Regions from separate parts of the Homo sapiens genome. Here region 2 is linked to region 1. The links are contacts of gene promoters, found by promoter capture Hi-C in human tissues and cell types (Jung and others, 2019). All regions are on one chromosome and are shown on one strand. The core of a region is centred on a gene start or on the middle of the fragment in contact, and the rest is flanking DNA. Distances in the headings are between cores, read along the strand shown. Region 1 holds the start of C15orf32 (chromosome 15 putative open reading frame 32). Region 2 overlaps ST8SIA2 (ST8 alpha-N-acetyl-neuraminide alpha-2,8-sialyltransferase 2).

Region 1 (7,294 bases), core at 4,580-7,079:
TAGGGGCTGGAATCACAGGTCTCACATAGAGAAATAGCCAGCTTGAATTTGTTAGTCGTATTCCTTCACCTGATGAATAACAGTGTTTTAAAACATATTTGAAAGGTAAGTAAAAAACTACCATCTTGAAGGTGAAGGGAGTTAAGAAAAGTAATCAAGACCTGCTCCTAAGCATATGAGACCAGATGTAATTAATCAATGGCAATGCAGAACAGGACCTTGGCTCTAAATTAATGGTTGACCGGAAGGGATTGGAGGCGGCAGAACCATTAACCCTACACAAGAACACTCCAGCCCAAAACCGTGAGGAAGGTGATATATCTCTGCATTTTCCCTTGTTGTTGCTTGAAGTCTGTGATTGGGGATTTGCGTTATAAAATGAATATTTTAAAAAGCAACAGCCCTAATAGCCTCTGTGGGAACTGAGTGGTTTCGGACTCCTCACAGGCGGTGGAAATAATTAATACCATATTTTATACATCTCCAGAGCCTTTCATCTTGAGGATCTCAAAGACCGTAGAAGACATTTAATTTCTAAAGCTTGAAGTGCCCCGAGGAGCAGGTAGAATTTCCAGCAGGGCCTTGGTGGATTAACCAAGGCCTTGGATTCCAGAATGTTTCATGGTAAGCACTGTGGAGAACCTACATGTCAGGTTCTGGAGTTGGCCCTGAGCTCTATCCACCAAGCCAGCACCCCACCATCCCTTTGCAGGGGAGTCAAAGGGCCAGAACTCCTTGGGGGACCAGAACATGGTTTTCCTTCTGCCTATCTTAGTCATGGCTCCTAAAATTGAAGCTGATATGAGCTGGAGTGCAAGGAGTCCTTCCACCCTGCCTTCAGGTTCTCTCTGGAGAAAGGTTAGAGACCCCAGGACAATCAACATGTGCACCGTTCCCCTCCTCGGCTTGAGTCCTGCACTACCAAAATGGCCTGGCCATTTGATGGCGGAGCTCCAGGGGCCTTGGCTTTCTCTGGCTCATTGTCCTTCTCCATCTGGGCCAATTGTCCTTCCCTGCCCATTCAGAGTTCAATTTGAGCCTCCACTGCAGTTCCTGGTGTGGGCCAGCTGGTGTTGGGTGGCCCCAGGGAGTCACACAGTCTGTACCCGGCCCCGAGATCCTCTGCTGTAACTGCAGGGTCACAGGCATCCCGGGAGAATGGGCCTCCACCCTCAGCCAGCCCTCACTGCTGACAGGCACCCCTCTGTCACCTCCTGCCACCTGTCAGATACCCAGCCTGCCCGCCATCAGCCACCCGAGTGGTTCCGACCTCCATTCACCTCAAGCCCCAACAGGCCCCTGTCATTCCACTTCATGGAAGAGACGGAGCCTTCTGAAATGAGATCTACCCTGAAAATCTCTTCTCCTTCCCCTTTCTGAGAAACGTCATCCCCACCAGTTAACGTTTCCTGTACACCCTCACCCTCTCTCGTCCATCTCTGTTGCCTCTGCACATCAGCACACACTGACTCCACCTGGGCTGGCTCCTGCCGCCTCTTCCCTACCTCCTCCACTAGCCGCAGGAAGGGCCTCCAGCACCCACAACTGCCCTTCCTCTTGATGCCCCTCGGCTTCCCCCCAGCCTGGCAGCAGCGTCCCAGCGCCTCCACATTGCCCCTCTCACCTCCCAGCTCTCCACGCCACTTGGCTCTGCAGCGACCCCTCCTAGACGCTCCCTGGCCCCTCGGCACCCAGAATGCCACATTCTTGTGTTTTTTTCCTCCTTCTTTCCCAATCCCTCTCAACCATGTATTTATTTATATATGTATGTATTTTTTTATTTATTATTTATTTATTGAAACCCCTACTTTGATTGACAAAGGAATCAAGGTAGATCTGACCAGTATTCCCCTCTCTTCTCCTTGTCCCACCACATGGACATGCCTTACACTGGCGTCCTCTCCTGAGTCCCTCCGCACTCTCCATCAGCAACCTCACACCTGCCTTCAGACCCGGCTGCAACTTCCTAAGCTGCCCCTGCCCCAGCTCCTCTCTGCAACCCAGCCCTCTCCTGAGCTCTAGGCTGGGATTACACCCGCTGGAGGGACACTCACCCCATCTGCTCCCACGGCAGCACCATCAACTCAACAAGTCAGAAGCCAAGTGGATCATCTGTGTCCCCTTCCCCCACAATCCCTCCTTTTTCTAGTAAAAGACCCGTGATCCCGTCAGCCACCCAGTCTGAGATGCTGACGTTATCTTCGACTATTCTTCCCTGTCCTGCCTTGCTAATTCTTCCCACTAGCACTAATCTCGACTCTTTGTCACTTGGACTATTTCAGCAACAGTCTCATCTCCCAGATTACCTCTGTGCACACTGACACGTGGTCCCGTCCATCCTGAACATGCACAGTGATTTTCCTCTCCCGTTGCACACAAACCTTTAAAAGTTCCCCGGCCCGTGAACAAATGTACAATTCTCTATTCTGACATTACAGACCACCGGATAAGGCCCCATTCTTCCTTTACACCCTCCCCTGGTCAGCCTAGGAGAGTTGTTTTTCCTGGAAAGGGTGCCTGCGTTTTACTGTCTCTGTGCCTTTGGTCTTGCTATCCCCATCCCCTGGAATGCTCCCTTTTCTTCCCTTCAAAGCCCATGCGGAAACCACGTCCTTCATGAAGCCCTCCCTGATGTACCAACCACTGGGATCTCTCCCTCTGCTGAACCACCGTAGCACTTTATTTGTACCTTTCTCATGGCACTTACCATATTCTGCCTTGTATTATAGTTATTTGTGCACTTGTCCTTTGACTGTTCTTAGACTGTAAGCTTGCCAAGGGCAGGGACTGTGTTTTATTCATCTGTATCCATCACAGCACTAGGCGTGGTGCATAGCACACAGCAGTTGCTCAATAAATGTTTGTTGGATTAAATCCTTAATACCTGTAGAGGGCTTTATACTTAAGGAAGTCATTTTGCATCTATAATATCACAAGAACCTCTGAAAAATCATGTGGGTTGGACCAAAGCAGAAATCATTATCCCCGTTGTATAGGTCATAAAACTGAGGCCAAAAACCTGCATGAAGCCTCACGGCTTCCTGGTAGAATGTTCATCCAGGTCTTCTCATCCTCACTTCAGGGCTTTTCCTGTTCATCTTTGTGGTTGGATCACTGTAAACTGAAAACTAGCCCTATGCAGAGGCCTAGACACAGAGACCCAACAAACCTCAGCATGAACCCCATCAGCACAGGCAAAATCTCACTCCTTTCTGGGAAGGACGAAAGCCATTTGGGTTTTACGAGTCCTGGGAGGTGGAGTTATAGGACCCCATCAGTCATTCCCACTGCTGTTGTTGAGGGTAGGAAACCATCCTTCCAGATGGCAGGGAGACTAACAACTCCAGGGGGCTGCTTTTTGATAAATCTCTTCATGCCTAATTAAGGCTCCCTCTCCAGAATGAATGGAAGAGGATGTTTACTGATGCCAGTCAGATGGGACTCCAGACATGTGTACTGCCTCATGAATGTCCTTAATGCTATCCCCAATGACACTGACAGCCTGCCCCAGCCTCTGTCTCTCACCAACACTGCCGAATGTCATCTCTTCTCATCTTTATCTCTATTCTTTGCTTCCTGTCTTCAGGGCTCTTCCCTTGGCATTCACCAGGAGCAGAGTGAGCCCAGAGAGCTGAGTGGTATCCCTTCTTCTTGGGTCCCTGAGCCCTGACCTGGAGCAATGCTGTGAGACAGCAGGAAAGGAGGGGAGTGTGGAGTGGGGAGCACTATATGCCACTCCTCATGGAAGCAGAAAAAAACAGGCTTTTGTTCTGGTGGCAGGTCATCCACAACAATGGGATGTTTCCATGGTTACCATCTAGAAGCAATATCTTAGTTGTTTGGGGCTTTATGATGGGGGTAATGTAATTTCTGTTCTTAGCAATCCAGGTGACAGGGCAATTTCCATATATAGTCCACTGAGCCATCCAGCCCCAGATCATAGTTTCTCTAGAATCGTCCTAGCTGTCTGCAGCCAAAGCCCAATAGAACCACCCAACAAAGAGCACTAAAGGTCCCTTGTGGCCTTTCTCAGTCTTCCTCACCATTTCCTCAGCCACCTTTCCCTAGAACCTGGGGGATGGGAAATGGGGCTACTGTGGGCTTCCAAGAACCATGCCAACAAAGACCTCAAGTTCTCCAGTCATGACAACATTTTTAAATATTTAAAAGCATTCTCCAAAACTGACCCAGAACCAGCTATGAGCGGCCATCCCTTAAGGAATTAATAGAAAATGAGGATCCAATGGCCAAAAAGTGGAGGACTGCCATGCAACCCACATGGACCCTAGAGTGATGGGTCCAGGCAGTCATGGGGGGAGTGCAGCCCTCCATTCAGCATGCTGAGGCAAGTCAAATGGGGTTGGTGCAGGAAAACGCCCTTTCAATTTGTTTCCAAGTGTCTTTATTTTCTAAAATGAGACTGTAATGGTGGAGCTGCTGGACAAAGTCAATGAAGGGATGACTGGCCCGTCAGAATCATGAATGCTTAACAGAAGCTGTGTGTTCCAGGGAAGACCACTCTGAGGCAAGCTGTTTTACTGCATTCTCATTCCAGTGGCCTAGGTGGGCAAGAATATAACTCACTGTAATAACAACAGCGGGACAGGTTGCTTGGCTGTATCTTGTGTTCACAAATGCCCCATCTCTGGTCAGGAGCTCTGGAAGGAGTACCAGATGATCTGAAAGCCTGCCACTCAAGAACCTAGAGGGCATGAATGAGACTTGGCTCTGGTATTTTTCCATCTGTAAAATGGAGAAGACACCTACCGACCTCCTTTATGCAGTTATTGCAAAAATGCAAATACAGGACAAGGTAGATAGAGAAATTGGGTAGAGGGAGTGGGGATGCTCAGTGGTATAAAGCAAGTGAAATGTATGCAGCTGTGAGTTTTCAGGATTCTGCTTGTCCAACATCAGATCACACCATTGCCCTGCTTAAACCCTCAGTGGCTTTCCTTCATCCTTGCAAGAAAATTCCAAGCATCTTACCATGGCTTACAAGACCTTGAGCCCTCCTCCCTCTGGCTCCCTGTTATTCTAGTGTCAGGGCCTTTGCACTTGTTGCGCCCTCTGCCTGGAAATCTGCTTCCCAGCTCCTTGCCTTCCCTCTCTGTCTCATCTTTCATGCTTCAAATTGAATGTCACCTCCTGGGGAGCCTGCTCCTTGTCTCCCTCAGCTAATTACTTTCTATTACACGACACATTATCCTGCTAGGTGGTCTTCATAAACTAAATTATCTCATTTATTTTGTAGTTCTCAACCCCAAGGACCCTCCTAAAAGATCCCAGTGCTCAGGCCACACTCCACACAAGTTTAAACATCTCTGGAAGCTGATCACGGACATCTTCCTGGCTCACGGTCAGAACTGAGAAACAATGACATATCTGCTCACTAGTTTATGGTCCACCTCCACTTCTAGGATGTTCCAGGGGTACTTGTTTTCCACAGGGGTCACCTATGCCCTGGAAGGTGGAAGTGGCCCTCCTCCAAAGTAATTGTTGATGACTCTGCCTGGGGTGCTGGCAACAGGCTTGCAATGTGACCATATCCCTGGTGCTCTCAGCAGGTACAGGCCAGCTTTGAATTTCCCAAGGATGACACTTTACCCCCTGCAGCTCCAGATAAATGTCCAGCATTTTTACCCATTAGCTGAGCTAGTGGGTGGAATTTTTCCAGTCCCCATTTGACCCACTCAGAGAATTTCATGAGCCTTGCCTTACCCAGGAGGCTCTTTCCTGGCTTGTGCAGGCTTTAGAACTCCACCCCCTAGCCCCACCCCAAAGACCTTTATGAGCTCAGCTGGACATTGGAACCACTGGAGGAGCTTTAAAACCTCCTGAAACCTAGGTCTGGCCTTCAGGGAATCTGATTCCTTGGTCTGGGGTATGGCCCGGGCATCTCCTGAAGCTCACCAGGTCACACAGAGGTGTAGCCCCAGCTGGGAACCACTGACCCAGACTCAGTTCCTGAATTTCTGTGACCGCTTCCATGGCAGCCCCTCTCAGGCCCCTGGTGTGAGGTCTTTCTTTTGCTTCTGGCTTCTGAGAGTTTCCTTTCCTGATTCCAGGCTGGGCTCGGTTTTGTCTGGTGGGTTTTTTTGCCACTGCCGTTGTGTTAGTGGCATCCAGGTCTCCGGATTACTGCATGCTTGCAGTGGGAGGAAAGGCCTGTCTACCATGTTCTCTGCCTCCCCTTCATGTTCTGTGAGGAGAGGGGCCTTGTCTGGCATGTTCACCGAGGCATTCCTGACCACTAGAACTGTGCTTGGCACAGAGTAGGCACTTAATAAACTCCTGCTGCATGAACAAAAGAACAAGTGTGGATGCTTCAAAGGAAGACTTGCACCCGGCTGACCCCCAGAGTGGGGAAGGGGTCCCACCTAATAGGAAGAACACCAAGACTTCCCCAAGAGGAGAAGGAACGGCTCCCCCTTTCTCGGCGAGGCCATGTGTCTGGACCCTGTGTGAGATGCTTTCTATACTAGCCCTTGTTGGGGTGTTGCACCCATTTTACAGATCAAACAACCAAGTTTATCAGAAATTAAAGACTCATTTAAGATGCCAAAGCTCACGAGTGGATGGTTTGATGCTGAAGCCAACATTGTTAACACCATCTCAGCTCAAAAGCCCTGAAGGCCACTTAATTCTACCAACCTTCAACCATCTTGTCATAAGGTGAGCCTGCACTCAGGAGTGACAGGAAGACAGAACTCACCTTCCTATAGCCCAGACTCCTCACAGGCTACTGCTCCACCCTGGCTCTTCCCACTGGCAAAGCAGATACAGACCCAGAGCACACCTGTATAGCAATGTCAATTGTTCAAATGCTTCCTTGCCAGGTGGTCAAGAGCCACAGCTCTGAGCACCCCCTGTGCCCTGTGCTCCAGCACTGTGGCCAAGGTCCATTCTGATTGGTCAGGGGCCCTCTGTATTGGTAAATACTTTGCATATCACCCCTGCTCCCAGGTTCTCCAGGCAAGAAACTAGGGGCCAGGTGGCCGATTTGGGCGTTTAGACCACTGGGCAAGACACCAGAGCCTCACTGCACTGCTGTTTCTGTGGCAGCTACTTTGGGTGACTGGCTTTCCTCTCTTGTTTTCCACAGACACATCCTCGACCCAAAGCAGATATTCTGTGTAGCTGATGTGTGTACAGATTGCAAATTCAATTGCGGAAGCATAGAGAGGCACCAGAAGAGGCATCTTATGAGAGTCAGCCAGGACTGGTAATGAGCAAACCATCACCTTGAATAGCCTCTGAGAGGTACACAGTGAAGGGCCAGAGGATGACAGAA
Region 2 (7,725 bases), core at 1,694-4,193, 37 kb before region 1:
CAGCCCCAGTGTTTGTTAGCCAGGACCTTAGGCAAGTGATTTTACCCCTCTGAGCCTTGGCTTCCCCATTTAATTAGAATAATACTGCAGTGTCTTCTTTGAGGAGTGTTTAAGGATTAGAACCACCAAATGTAAGAATCTATCTAACCCAACACCTGATATGTTAAAGGTACTTATTTGATGCTTGTTACTACTACTGTGGATATATCTGTGGCATGAAAAGAAGGTCACTGGGAGTGAAGTTCAGGAGTCGGGAGGTGAAGCAACTTAAGCCTGAAATGTACCTCTAGTGTCATTTTGGAAATGGGGGAGGGGACTGGAAACAGGAGAACACATTCATTGAAAAGGAATATCTCAACTCACCAATCCAACGTGTTTGTGCAGCACACAGCATGTAAAACCTGTGAACCGAGGTGGACCCTGGAGTTTTCTAATCCATCCCCTTTATTTTACAGATAAGAAGGCAGAGTCTAGAAATCTGAAGTGACTTTTCCAAGTCCCCCAGGTAGACTGCAACTGAGCCAGGGTTAAAATCCCTTAAGACCATGATGGGCTATGCAGGATGCCATCCAAATTCACCCTGGAAAGTGGAGAGAGAAATGGAATTTTACCATTACCCACACCAGCATTTATCTCTCTCCCTTTCCAGCCTTTGCCATCTTGTGTCCAGGAGAAGTCTGGAAACCTTTCCTGGAGGTTTCCAAGCAGGTCTCCTCTCCAGGCATCCACGGGAGAATTCCTCTGCAGCTCCTTCTTTCCTGAGCCTAGTGCCATCCAGTGTGCCCCAGTCTCTGAGAAGCATCACCCTAGACTGAACCCACCTTAAGCCATGAGACACCAGAGCCCAGTCACTGATTTCTGATGAGTACATCAGCTAGCCTCTTAGTGCGATAACTCCTCATCACCAACATTAAAGCATTTCTGTTGTGCGTGCCTACTGAGGTAGGCTTCAACAAAGCTGGGGTGAAGCCGCTAATTCTGTGTCGCTGAGGTCAGTGCCCCTGCCTGTGTTCTGCATAGAAGTTGGTGGTATCAAAAGGATGCAGCAATGCCAGCTCCTGCTAGAGCCTCATGAGGTGGCAGCCAGTGGGGCATGCCAGAAACATCGGTGCTCCTTTGAAAATTCCAGAACCTCACGAGATGGATATCTGTCTCTTCTACACCTTGTTTCTATAAATGGGCAATCTGTGGCTCAGAGAAGTAAAGCTATCGACCCACAGTCACACAGCTTATGAAATCTTTCCACTGTACCCAATGCGTCTTGCATGAAAACAGTAAAAATTCCAAAGGGTTAGGTCTTGTGTACCCTCTCGGAAGCTCCCTTAAGCCTGCATGCTAGGAAGAGTTCCTCTGCCTTACTCAAAACTCGTCAATTCTCTATCCTCTGCGAAGTTACAGATATTTGAATTCAAGAGAAGTGATATCAGCCAGAAGGAGTCAGAAATATTGAGGAATGGAGGTGGGTGCATGAAGGGAATGTGTGAGACAACATGCACCCCTAAGCGAAGTCCTTCTCTACCTGCAAAAGTCAAACTAGGGCCAAGCATGGTGGCTCATGCCTGTAATCTCAGCACTTTGGGAGACCGAGGCAGGCAAATCTCCTGAGGTCAGGAGTTCAAGACCAGCCTGGACAACGGGCGAAACCCCATCTTTACTAAAATACAAAAATTAGCCGGGTGTGGTGGCATTCGCCTGTAATCCCAGCTACTCAGGAGGCTGAGGCAGGAGAATTGCTTGAGCCTGGGTGGTGGAGGTTGCAGTGAGCTGAGATCATGCCACTGCACCCCAGCCTGGGTGACAGAGCCCGCCTCTGTCTCCAAAAAAAAAAAAAGAAAAAAGTCAAAGTGGAGCGTCAGGTTTAGAACTCACTAACAGGATTTCATCTTTTTTAACTTGGCTGTTTCAAGATAAATGGAGAGGACACAGATGTTTGGTTTGAACTCTTTAAAGCTTCAGAATGTGTCATCACAAATCCACTTATTCTAACTGGGAGAATCTGCTGTCAGCACAGACAAAAAGAACTTTGGATGTGACCCACATATATCTGTGTGCATCCAGCAGCAAGGCGGCTAACTCTTACACTGCCTTTAAAGATAGAATTGTAACCTAGTTTATAGAAACCTACTAGCATAGATTTCAAGCCTCTGAATTCAAGCCAGTCCTATAATACCTGGTGTTCCTGAGTCAGATGGAAAGGGGGTGTTTACCCAGAATCGTGATCCACCCAGGGAGTATAAAGCCAGCCAGTTCTTTCATTCACTCCAGGCTCCCCCGGGATCGATTTCAACCTAAATTCAACAATACTTATTTATTGAGCACCCGCTATGTTAGACCATTAGGGAATATAAAATGAATGTGGGAGATCCCTTGCGTACAGTCTCCTATGAGGGACAGACACAGCACAGATGACTGTGTAACAAGGTCCATGTTTCAAGGAGCATATCTCAGAATTACCCTCAAGAGAGTGATGGGGCTGCCAGGGAGGAGGGTGAAGCCACAGGCTACAATGACATTGTCCTGGTATGAGTTCTTGTTTTCTCTTTTAAGTTTGTAAGACCATCATTTGATACTTTGTTGCTCATATACCTGCTCCTTGTAGAGTTTCTTATCAATAGCTTGAATAAGAAATATTACTCTTCTGACAGTGACTGCCAGGTTTTACCAGGAAAAAAAAAATCACTAGGGGCAGGGGAAGAAGAATAAGTTTATCACCCTCCTTCCTGTCTCCAACAATGTATGTAGGTTATACCTTAGGGACAGAGTTTCTGCATTACTGGAAGATAAATAGACTTCCTTCTCTTCTCAGGTAATAACTGCAATTTTGCTCTTCTGGAGAAGTTTACATTCAAGCCCGTGCAAAAACAAAACTATTAGACTTGTCGTCGGCTTGCTAACACATCATGTCTACCCTCTTTCTTTTTTTTTCCCTTCCAGAGCTGAAGTTGTAATAAACGGCTCCTCATCACCAGCTGTTGTTGACAGAAGTAATGAAAGCATCAAGCACAACATCCAGCCAGCCTCGTCCAAATGGAGACATAACCAGACGCTCTCTCTGAGGATCAGGTACTGGTAATTACCTACAGGACAAGAGGTAGACTTGGTCTTGAGCATACACGGGCAAATTGCTTCTCTTCGTCATCTAAAGAAGTCAGGATAGAAATAAAATGTTTACCTCCCACTGAGGCAGGTTTCATCTGTAAGTGATCAATCGGAAATAAAAACCCGAGACAAGCCTAGCGGCCCAGCCTGTGTATGTGGCGACTGGGGCCAGGCGGTGGCAGGAACACCCGCTGAGGTTCTGGGCTTAGAAGCAGCAAACCTTGAGTCTCGGGTCAGCAGCAGAGGGAATCTGGGCAGTGGAGGCCACAGGTGGCTGCTTCTTCCCAGGCATAAAGAGTCCTTACTTGTTGGGGTCTGCCTGGGAGTCACATCCCCTTTCAGTGACAGTCCTCCAGTTTGTTCCTGGAGAGCTGCTCCCTCTCTCAGCCCTTGGGCTTGTATAGGCTGCTCCTCCCTAACAACGTGAAAATGAAAACCTAGAGCCATAGGGGCATCCGGAGAACCCAGGAACTGACATGACACCCGACCAGAAAGCAGAGGTCTGTTTAGCCAGAGAGCAGCTCTCGTCCTGATCTGTGCAGAGTGATGTTTTCAGAGCACTGCAGCCATCATCGGGTAGTGGCAATGGGGAACCGTAGAGAAGGAATTACAACTTCGGCATTTTGGACACTTAGCTTAGATATAGCCATGATTGACCCAGCAAATATTTGTAAGTATAATCCAACTATTCAGTTCCAGGCATCGTGCTGGGGCCCCAGGAGTGCTAGCATGAATCAGACATGCTAGCTGGGGACATGAATATAAGCAAAGACAAGACAGCGTGGTATGACATACACATGAGGTGGTGCTGCATCTTACACATAGATGGAAATAAACAGGCCATACTGAGCAAAGAGTCATTCATTTTGTAAGAGGACTAAGAAGACTGGCCAGGAAAGGCTGGCCAGGAGCAGTGGGTTTTGAAGGATAATTAGGAGTTCACCAAGCTGCTTCCCACATGCACAGAGTCTGTGATCTGGTGCTTGTGGACAGTGCTGCAGGAGCAGGAAGCAGGAGGCAAGGAATAGGGGGGTAAGGTTGGGACGATAGGCAGGACCAGACGGGGAATGATTGATGACCATCCCAGGCCATACCATGGGGAGAGAGGAGAGCAGCCATCAGCAATGTCACCACGCAGAGCAGGGAGTTGCCCCCTCCACAAGGCTCACTGTCAAAATGGAAATGCCTCTGCACCCTAGTTCTTGAAGCTTAGTTTTGGGACCTGTGCAGGGCTGGGGAATTGAAAGGCATGAGCTCTGGGGACCTAGCAGCTGAGAAACCATCTGAAGTAGCTGACTCCCTGCCACCCTGCACTCCTTACTTACCGCCTCTTCAGAGGCCTCCTGGTGGCCCTCCATCCCCCTCACGAAGCCCTAACAACCGCCCCCTTTGATCAGGGACACCGTGGAGTCAGCAACCCCAACTGCATTAGCTCCCTAGGGCTGCTGTAACAAATTACCAACAACGCGGCGGCGGCCTAAAACAACAGAAATGTATTCTTGCACCGCTCTGGATGCCACAATTCTGAGCACCCCCTTGCAGGCTCCAAGGGAGAACCCATCCTCTCACCGCTTCCAGCCTCTGGTGGCCGCAGAACTCCAACCCCTGCCTCCATCTTCACGTGGCCCTCTCCTCTGTGCTTCTATCTTCTTCTCTTCTGTCTCCTATAAGGACACCTGTCATTGTATTTAAGGCCCACCCGGGTAATCCAGGATCTAATCTCCAGATCCTTAAGTTAATTACATCCGCAAAGATGTTCTTTTGACATGTGGTCACATTCACAGGTTCCAGGGGTTAGGAGGTGGGCATATATTTTAGAGGGGGTCACCATTCTCCCCACTACACCACCGTGAATGAAATCCTCCTGCCAGTATGAGCTACCCATGGTCCCCAATGTCCCTTTCTCCAACCATTGGATAGAGAAATAGCTCCCCCACCCCTTGTGAAGACGAGACTGTGTCCTTCATAAAGACCCTGCAAACACAGTCCCTTCAGCAGCAACAATGTACCTTTACCCAGAGGGAAAAAGAATTTCCTCCAGCTTCAATTAATCACCAAGATTATTCATAATAAAAGATTCTGCAAGTGATTTGGAATGATGTTTAATAATTGATGGTAATTTCTCCTAATTAGTTAGAAATTAATTCACTCACAGAGGTGTTTATTTATGGGCTTTCTAGGGGCTCTCTTTGTTTTTAAATGCTTTGGGGTAAGTAATTGCAAAGGTTTCAGCAATTTCCCAACTATATTAGTTTGTCAAGTCATATAATCCTTGGTAAAGCACAGTAAATAAAAACAGTGCCTCTGTTTTCCATCAACAGATACGAATTATTCTACAAGGGTGGTTTCCCCTACATGATAGCAAGAGAGGCAGGTCATCAATAAGGAAAGACAATGGATGAGACGCGCCGAGCTTACCAAGTGTTCTAGCTGCCCCCTGGCTGCCCCGGAGGCTCTTGAACCTGGACACACATTAAAGTCACCCGGGGAGCTTTTGAGAGCAATGCTGAGAACTGGGCCACTCTCAGAATCAAGATTTCTCACATGTCAGCCTGGAAATTTGAAATACTTAAAGGTTCCCCAAGTGACTGAATGTGCAGCCTACTGGAACGTACCATAGGTTGTGAACATCTCAAATCCAGCAGGCTTTCAGGCCTCAGTGTTACTATCTGCGAGATGGGACAGCCATCCTGCAGCGTCTAACATTTGCAAAGTGCATGAAAATTCTGCACCTCCAGGACTCTGAAAACAAAGAACAGCATCTTTGTATCTGTTCTAGATAGGAATTTGCAGCAGAATATGAAATTAATTTCAGCTTATCTAGGTACTCAATTCCTTTCTCTTTATGACTGGAATCATTTCTTAAAATCTCAGGTGATTTAAACAGTTCTTTAAGTAAAACGCCCAGCTAGGATTTTCAGGTTCCTTGGCAGAAGGCTGTGTGTTTCAGGTAAAGCTTTTCTGGCAAGGCTAAGAGGACACCCATCCCTTTCCTGACCCCACTCCATCCTTTCTTTGTGCTTTGCTAGATGATTCGATTCGAGAACTTTCTCTAAATCAAAGCTACCCCAGAGCCTAGAGAGCTGTGCTTCGTTCTGAAACAATGCAAAGGAGCCCTTCTCCGTGGAACTGGGAGGGGTCCATGTTTACAATCCCCCCATAAACACTAGAGAGCAACTAGAGGGGGCAGCAAGGGGACGTGCACCAGCTTGCAGGATGGCAGGCCATCCTCTCGGTGTCTCAAAGGCAGAAAGTGTCCATACACGTCACAGTATCCATCCCCCCAGAAAGCCCCTTTGCAATGTGCCCAGAGAAACCTTCCGTGGAAGAAAATGGGCCGGTAAGGAGTGAGAGGCGCCTGTCATCTGGCTTTCTGCTCCTAGACAAATTTATTATCCTTTTTTCAAAATCTAGGAAGTGTGGGAGTAGCAGAGAAACTTAGATTTTATACCTAGCCATTCATTTTCATCCCCGTCAGAGGATGGCCCTAAATCCCCCTAAGACAGTGAGGGTAATGTAAGCTCACCAAATGTCTGGGTGTGCCCCAGACTGTGGGGCTTTCAGGGACATGGGGCTTTCAGTGCCCGAGCCAGGCAGTCCTGGGGAAACTGGGGTGGTGGGCCACCCTTCCTTCTGGGGCCCGCTGTGAGGAGCTCACTCCAGCCCTAATGGAGTGATTCCACAGGGCAGTTTTCACCTAGCAAAGGAAGAGGGTGTAACCCTGGCAACCCCCATATTGGCCACCACCGTAGTTGCTTCTGGGCCACTTCTGGCCATCCCTGGCTGGAACCTGTTCTCGAGGGCATCTGAACTCTCATCATACTCTGCGTGTTTGCTGGGCTGCAGCCACCGTGCAGGGCGACCCTGGATAGGAAAAGCTGGGCTGGCAAAGGGCAGCTGGCACCCTGGAGAATTTCCTCACGCATGTTTGGTTTTCACAGGAAGCAGATTTTAAAGTTCTTGGATGCTGAAAAGGACATTTCTGTCCTAAAGGGAACCCTGAAGCCTGGAGATATTATTCATTACATCTTCGATCGAGACAGCACCATGAATGTGTCCCAGAACCTCTACGAGCTCCTCCCCAGGACTTCGCCACTGAAGAATAAGCACTTTGGGACTTGTGCCATCGTGGGCAACTCGGGGGTCTTGCTGAACAGCGGCTGTGGGCAGGAGATTGACGCCCACAGCTTCGTCATCAGGTAACATGCCCCAGCAGGCACTCTGGGGCCAGAGCGGCGGGCAGGCTGTGTTTCAGTGGAGCATTGCCAGCTGTCCCAAGAGATTGAAACAAGAGGCCCTGGTGGAGTTAGCCCCTGCTCTCAACCATGACTGCTCATCAGAATCACTTGGGGAGCTTCGCCTCCAATGTCCAGAATGTACCTCAAACCAATTAAATCAATGGAGGAGAGGGGAAGAGAGGCGTGGCAGGGGTGCGGGCAACCCAGGGAGCCCAGGTCATTCTGATTTACAGCCAAGGTTGAGAATCACTGATCCACAGCAAAGATGGGCAGATGCTGGCCTGCAGCCTAAAGTTTGGTTGGAACACAGCCATGCCACCCGTTTTCATATCATTGATGGCTGTTGTCTCACTACAAGGAGAGTGGAGTCACTGGGCACGGTTAAATC

Evidence for each region. Contacts are between HindIII fragments. The study calls those that stand out against the background at their distance.
Region 2: a fragment that was not itself captured here is called in contact with the fragment with the promoter of C15orf32 in region 1 in 2 of the 25 tissues and cell types used here (H1 embryonic stem cells and pancreas).

Annotation. Positions count from the first base shown.
Region 1 is chr15:92,465,848-92,473,141 of GRCh38, forward strand. C15orf32 (chromosome 15 putative open reading frame 32) reads left to right here and starts at 5,830. Exons shown (of 3, transcript NR_161371.1): 1 at 5,830-6,675; 2 at 7,106-7,263. LOC104613533 (a long non-coding RNA gene) reads right to left here and starts at 5,699. Exons shown (of 2, transcript NR_126501.1): 1 at 5,394-5,699; 2 at 4,386-4,559. ST8SIA2 (ST8 alpha-N-acetyl-neuraminide alpha-2,8-sialyltransferase 2) reads left to right here. Exons shown (of 6, transcript NM_006011.4): 6 at 1-2,881. The HindIII fragment of the contact is 6,399 bases long and covers 1,656-7,294 here.
Region 2 is chr15:92,431,313-92,439,037 of GRCh38, forward strand. ST8SIA2 (ST8 alpha-N-acetyl-neuraminide alpha-2,8-sialyltransferase 2) reads left to right here. Exons shown (of 6, transcript NM_006011.4): 3 at 2,935-3,063; 4 at 7,041-7,298. Among named protein-coding and RNA genes, the nearest start is that of C15orf32, 37 kb to the right of the region's middle. The HindIII fragment of the contact is 4,476 bases long and covers 706-5,181 here.